2 separate regions of the Homo sapiens genome follow, and region 2 is linked to region 1. The links are contacts of gene promoters, found by promoter capture Hi-C in human tissues and cell types (Jung and others, 2019). All regions are on one chromosome and are shown on one strand. The core of a region is centred on a gene start or on the middle of the fragment in contact, and the rest is flanking DNA. Distances in the headings are between cores, read along the strand shown. Region 1 holds the start of TECTA (tectorin alpha). Region 2 overlaps GRIK4 (glutamate ionotropic receptor kainate type subunit 4).

Region 1 (3,126 bases), core at 237-2,736:
CAGATGGCATTTATCCGGGCAGCAGTCCTGTCTCAAGAAGGATGGAGCATCCAACATGGGTCAAAAGGGCTGTGATATAAATATCCTAGAATGCATGAAAAAGGAAGAAAGCAATTAGTATGCCACCAGCAGTTAATTAAAACACAGCCAGCGATTTTGCTTCAAGACATTTAGGTTGGCTACTGGACTAAAACCTAAGGCTGGACAAAGAGAATCCTTCTGTAATGAGTCTTTGATTTGAACTTAATTTTATTTTAAATAGGCACCCAAGAAACTAGCTTTTCTGTTATATAAATATACGCCATTCTAAGCACTCCTAGAATCCAAAGAAAAACAAATAAATGTGAGTCATTTGGAAAGAAGCAGTCATTTAACATCTGTAAGTAAATATGTGTGGAGGATTCATAATACCAGTGAGAGAATAAACAATGTGGGAAACCTACTGAATTATCACAGGTTTTTGGAAAAACACGGAGTAATTTAAACTAAAAAAATTTAGCTCGCCAAGCACTCTTGTCCATTTTAAGACAACATGCTTAAACCCAGAATTATATTTCTTTTGTACAGTTGGCATTTAAATGTCTGGTCAGAGAAAATTTGCAGTAATTTTTAAATTCCCATTGATGTGCAGAAGAGTTTTTTTTTCCTGCTACAGTCAAGTTACTTCTTTCTTAATAAATTCCATTTAAACATTTTGAATAGTAGATTTAGCTTATGCCTTAGCCAGTTTTGCTCATTCCACATCTACTGGATGCTTGGAAGCATCTAACCGAGCACGTTTTCCTCTTATTCACATGCCTTTTAAACTATTTACTTACTGCAAATTTTTTATCAGAAGGGGTTTATCTCCCCCCTCTGCCTCCAGTGACCCTCACTGGGTGTTAGGGAAGGTTTCCAGGCCACAGTTTGAGATTTCCCTTGTGGAAGATCGTGTCTAGCGCTAGGTCCCTTGTTAGATTTTGCCTGGAAAGTGCCCTGTCCTATCTCCTGCAGAGCGGTGCATCAGAGAGAAAAGAGAGGGCATAAAACCTAAAAAGTTTGGAAATTTTCTTTAAATACTTCATGCATACCTGTGAAAAAATAGAGTAGAGCCTATCTGTGGCGACTGTTGAAAACCAGAGAAACAAAAAAAGACTTTAATAGAAAACCAACTTCATTTAAATGTTGGAGGCAGCTGCTTTGTTTGGAGTTTTAATCCCATGCTGGTGGATGCTAATTCTGTAACATTATACAGTTGCCTTCTTTTGGGTACAAAGGTAGAAGGGGGGTTTTCTTTTGTGTTTTTCAGTGCAAAGTGATTCTGATCAGAAAGGCCCAAGGTTTCAGCTCCAAGTACCTGACATTTCCATCTGAATCTACTTTTTTTTTCAAAGGGGAAAAAAAAAGGTCTAGTTTTTCAGGAAAAGAACCTCTCTACGCAATCCTGAAACTGATCTTTAGATTTACTTTTCCTTAATCAATAGAAAAAAACTTGATTGCAGCTCAACACTTACCTGTCTCTAGTGCAGGACTAACTTAATTTTTGGTTTTAAGAGTACGAGATTCAGACATTATTTCAGGAATCAGAAATTATTGGCAACAAGTTGAGGAGAACTGACATGAATTCTTGTTTTACCTAATTTTTTCTGGCTTACCAAGATTTGGCTTAATATTTCTGACTCAGTTCCTCCAGCCTCTACAGAACAGGTTAGTGACATTTTTCATAAATACAAATATCTAAATGAATCCTCCTTACTTCTCTCTGAACCGGTTCCCTAAGGGCTCTAGTCTTAAACTTGCACGGCATCTTCTCCATTAAAGCTGTGTGTGATCTCTGCTAAACCTTTGTACCCTTTCCAGCAAAACTGTCTAATATTTAATATGTGCTTGAAATTACAACATATATACTTGACAACTAAAGATTTGCAATAAAACTCTCACAGGATAAATTCATTGCCTTTCCCGTGAAAGTTTGGCTGAAGAATTGTGATAACTTCAAATGATAAGAGGAAGGTTTTTCTTTTTTAAGAATACTGTCAGGAGGAGACTTCATGGTCTAGCCACACGCTTGGGTGATGTCTAACTTGAGCTTGCGTCCGTGTTCTCATCGCAGCTTTGCAGAGTGACACAGACAAAACATGCTCCTGATGGAGGGTAAAGCCACCATGCAACCGATTGTAAACTAACACGAAAACAAGTTTCTCTTTGCTGTGTTCCTTCTTTAATTAACTTGCTGGAACTAATTGGTTGCTTGTGCGCTGGATTCTATTTTTATTGTGATTCCAACTCTGGATTGGTCCTTTTTTATTACTAATGTTTCTATCATTCATTTCACTGTGGGAAGTCAGTGAACAGAGTAGACTGGCCCTGAATCTGGTCAATACTTCAAAATGATGGATCGGCTCCATTCTATGGAGAAGGTGATGGCAGACTCTAAATTCTCCTAGCTGTAGAACACATTGTGTTTTAACCAACTTTTGTTTGATTCTGATGGAAAGCTGTAGTGAAAATTAGGAAATCCAGGTCTCACTGGGGTGTGGTTTCTGCTGCAGAGACACAACCCGGGACCTGCATGCATCTTTAGCGTTGGGTCCTAGTTTTCAGCGCTTTATTTGATGCAGAGGGGATACCTTTCCTTTACGCATACCACTCTCACTGATCCTAAATAATTACTTGACAGTTTGAATGATCTCATTACACTTCCAGACTGGCTTCTTCTGGGCATCTAATTTGTTCATGAAGTGTTGAACTTCGGAGGACCTGCCAGCATTCAGGGGATTTCAGCCCGACTCAGCACTGTTGATGTTGTTATGTGAATTTGTTCTATGACGGTTTTGATGGTCTTGGGATTAGCCACTAAACACACCTGGTGTTCTGTTTACTCTGGCAAGCTGGGGATTTTTTTTTCATTTTCTTTTTAAAATTCCAGGATGAATTATTCATCATTCCTTAGAATTTGGGTCTCTTTCATCTTCGCACTTGTACAGCACCAAGGTGAGTACTACAGAATTCCATAAAGCTCTCAGTTAGCATGCTCTTGAATTGATAAAGAGACACTTTTATTGGAACCACAATTGTAAGGGCAGGTGCATGTGTGTCTACAGATACAAGAGAAAAATGTAATTAAATTCTATTATCAAGGGTAAA
Region 2 (3,430 bases), core at 351-2,850, 180 kb before region 1:
TCTCAGGGGAGAAGGGATTGGCTGTTTGACCCTGGGAAGGTCCTTTCTACAATGGCTCCTTGAGAGATGCATGCCACATAGCGATCCCTGCATGCAACCCACTGAGACCTGGGAAGGGAGGAAATCCATCTTCTCCAGCTCATTATTCACAGACAGGTGTACTTGAAAATAAAGGGGCCAGCGCGCTGGACTGCACCTTAGCCACAAACATGTTCATGCACTCTCTCCACAACACTCTGCTTCATTGTGAGTTCCCAAAAGGTTCTTTTCTGTCAGTAGGAGTCCTTTCACTCACCTGAGAAAAGGGCAATAATGGCAGTTTCGTGACTGCAGCCGCCCTTTTTTTCTTCTGAGATGTCTGTATCGGCTGCCAGGCTGCGGCTGGGCTCTCCCATCTCATCTCCCTCTCTCCCTCTGATGGCCTCCCTCTCCTCCATTCAGGAGTGAGGTGCGCACACCCCAGAAGATTGCCGCTGGGCCTCTGGAGCCGCAGCTGCCAACCGTGCGAGCCCAGCCAATGCCCTACCTGCGCTCGGTGGAGGGCTCTGCTGTGGCTTTCTGATTTGCCCTGTCCTCTGGCTTCCCTTGGCTTATAGGGGGTCTGAATGGGGATCTCATGTGCTCCAGACCCTTGCTCACATGTCTTCCTAGTTCAAAGCCGAGCCACCAGGAGGGAAGGGAGTAGAAGCAGGGTGCTATAACTCCTGACAAGGCCAGACACCATGTAGAAGCTCTACACTCATGAGTTAATTTGATCCTTACATGACCCATGAGACAGGAATTATTACTCTGTTCCACAGATGAGGGCACAGAGGCTTGGAGAGTTCCATAATTAATCCAAGCTCAGACACACAGCAAGTGGCCAGAGCCCAGACTCAGACCCCAATCTTGGGCTCTTCTCACTGCACCAAAGGGGCATGTGAGAACTGGTGTCTGGAACAAAGGATGACTTGGGTGGCATCGTCTTGTTCTCTGCATCAGCCTCCTAGAAGAATGAGGAGGAAGGAATAAGTTGGCCCAGGAGAATGGTAAACAAGGAGGTGGCTCTGAGTGGCCAGTTTGACAGGGACATTTGGCTGACACTTCTGTCCTCAACCCTCTTATCTGGAAACTGGACTTCTTATGACCACCTCGTTTTTCAGACTAAGAAAACAGAGCCCCAAGAAGCTAACGCCCAGGAGTGCTAGGAGTTGAAGTCAGGTCCTTTTCCTCTAGGAGCCTTTCAGCTAAAAAGGCAGACAGATGCGAGCAGAAGTTATTTTAATGAGGTCATACAGGATAAGTGCTGTATTAGACATAGCAAAGTACATCGTAAATGACTAGGAAGGTAGGGGCAGAAATGACTTCTGAATCGGGACAACCAGGATGGATTCCTAGTGGAAGTAAGACTGGCAACTCTTTGAAGGAAAGTACAATGTCTTATGCATCTTGACATCCTTATGCACCTAACACAGTGCCTGAAACACGGTGAAGTGGTAACATAGGTAATACTAGGAATCTCTAGTCTGAAAATCCAAAATCTGAAATGCTCCAATGTCTGAAACTTGTTGAGCTTCGATGTGATACCGCAAGTGGAAAATTCCACACCTATCCTCATGAAGGGTCGTAGTCAAAAACAGTCAAAACTTTGTTTCATGAACAAAATTATTTAAAATATTGTATGAAATTACCTTCAGGCTACGTGTCTAAGGTGTCTATGAAACAGAAATGAACTTCGTGTTTAGACTTGAGTCTCATTCCCAAGATACCTCATTATGTTTATGAAAATATTCCAAAATCTGAAAAAGTCGGAAATTCGAAACACTTCTGGTCTCAAGCATTTCAGATAAGGGGCGCTTGCATTCCCCTAGGGAGTGCTTCCTTCAGCAGGTTTGCATCAACCCAAGGCTTAGAAAGCCAGGCTTTCCGGCCAGGTGTGGTGGCTCACGCCTGTAATCCCAGCACTTTGGGAGGCCGAGGCGAGCGGATCACCTGAGGTCAGGAGTTCGAGACCAGACTGGCCAACATGGAGAAACCTCGTCTCTGATAAAAAATACAAAAATTAGCTGGGCATGGTGGCGCATGCCTCTAATCCCAGCTACTCAGGAGGCTGAGGCAGGAGAATTGCTTGAACCCGGGAGGCGGAGGTTGCCGTGAGCTGAGATCATGCCATTGCACTCCAGCCTGGGTAACAAGAGCGAAACTCCGTCTCAAAAAAAAAAAAAAAAAAAAAAAAAGAAAGAAAGAAAGAAAGAAAGAAAAAAGAAAGAAAAGAAAAGAAAGCCAGGCTTTCCATTTATGAATCAATCAGCAGACAGTGATTTAACACCTATGTGCCAGTCACTGTGCTGGGGTGTGGGGTAAAGGAACAGATCAGGTTTGGTTCTGTCTCTGAAAGCTTACAGACCGGGCGGTAAAAGGCAAGGGGGGCACAGGCATGTAAGATAATAAAGTGTAGGTGTGAGTACATGGCTGGGAGCCCCGAGCAGGGCAGGACTAAGGAATGACATCGGAGCGTCACCCGTGCAGGTGCGCTGCTTAAATCCCTGTCTCTGGGAGAGCAGTCTCCAGGCCCAGAGACAGTCAGCCACAGATTTGAAACAGACTTCAGAATTTTCCCCGCCCATCCTCAGATCCCTGTGCTGGTTATTTTCCATGGAAGGAGTTGCCCGGGGGGATCTGGAAGGGTTTGGAGTTCAGTTAGGTTCAGTGCTCCCTTAGCAGCTTCCTACTGGGAGCTCCTTCAAACCCCATTGGGCATCTCAAAGCAGCCTGGGAAACTTATCAGTTCTTGGGAATTATTTCCACCTTCCCCACTGAGCGCCAGCTGTTAAGGGGAGTGAAGGGTCTGCAAAGGAAATGAAAATGTATTAATTAAGGCATCTGAAAGCCTTCTAAGAGATCAGCTTGCTGCTAAGCAGAAGAGACAGGTGGTAGGGAATTGATTTGGGTCAGAGACAGGAAAGGAAGCTACAGACAATGTGATCTTAATGTCTTCTAAGAATTCTCTAGTCTCGATTCCCCAGCCACACAGCAGAGATGAGGATGTTACCTGTGGGCTTGGCCAGACACCAGACTCTGGTCTGAGACCAGGGAGGCTTTCAGGAGCTCCAGTTCAGCACGCAGGGACCAAGCCTCCTCTGCCTTGCTCTCCTTCCCACCCAGACTGAGAAATCCAGCTTCTGATGATTCCCCAAGCCTAAGTCTCTGAGCTTGCCAAACTGGTTCTCTCACTCCCCTTCCCCTCAGGAGTAAGAATCCTATTCCTGAACCCGGGGTGACAACCCTATTGACCCATTCTGATGTACTTACCATCCTCAGCCAGTGGTGCCTGCCTCTAGATGCATTGATTCCATATTGGTTGTGCCTTCAGCTTTTACTTTCATAGAGTTCACACAGTTTTTACTTTCATAGAGTTCACATCCTGTATACATAGGACCTCCATGTATGG

Evidence for each region. The method cuts DNA at HindIII sites, captures the fragments that hold promoters and counts their contacts. A contact is called where the count stands out against the background at its distance.
Region 2: a contact is called between a fragment that was not itself captured here and the fragment with the promoter of TECTA in region 1, in 1 of the 25 tissues and cell types used here (pancreas).

The regions. Positions count from the first base shown.
Region 1 is chr11:121,099,757-121,102,882 of GRCh38, forward strand. It overlaps TECTA (tectorin alpha), which reads left to right and starts at 1,487. Exons shown (of 24, transcript NM_005422.4): 1 at 1,487-1,686; 2 at 2,909-2,973. The coding sequence starts at 2,910. TBCEL-TECTA (TBCEL-TECTA readthrough) reads left to right here. Exons shown (of 30, transcript NM_001378761.1): 8 at 2,909-2,973. The HindIII fragment of the contact is 17,013 bases long and covers 1-3,126 here.
Region 2 is chr11:120,915,057-120,918,486 of GRCh38, forward strand. All of the region lies in intron 13 of GRIK4 (glutamate ionotropic receptor kainate type subunit 4), which reads left to right. Among named protein-coding and RNA genes, the nearest start is that of TBCEL, 110 kb to the right of the region's middle. The HindIII fragment of the contact is 5,965 bases long and covers 1-3,430 here.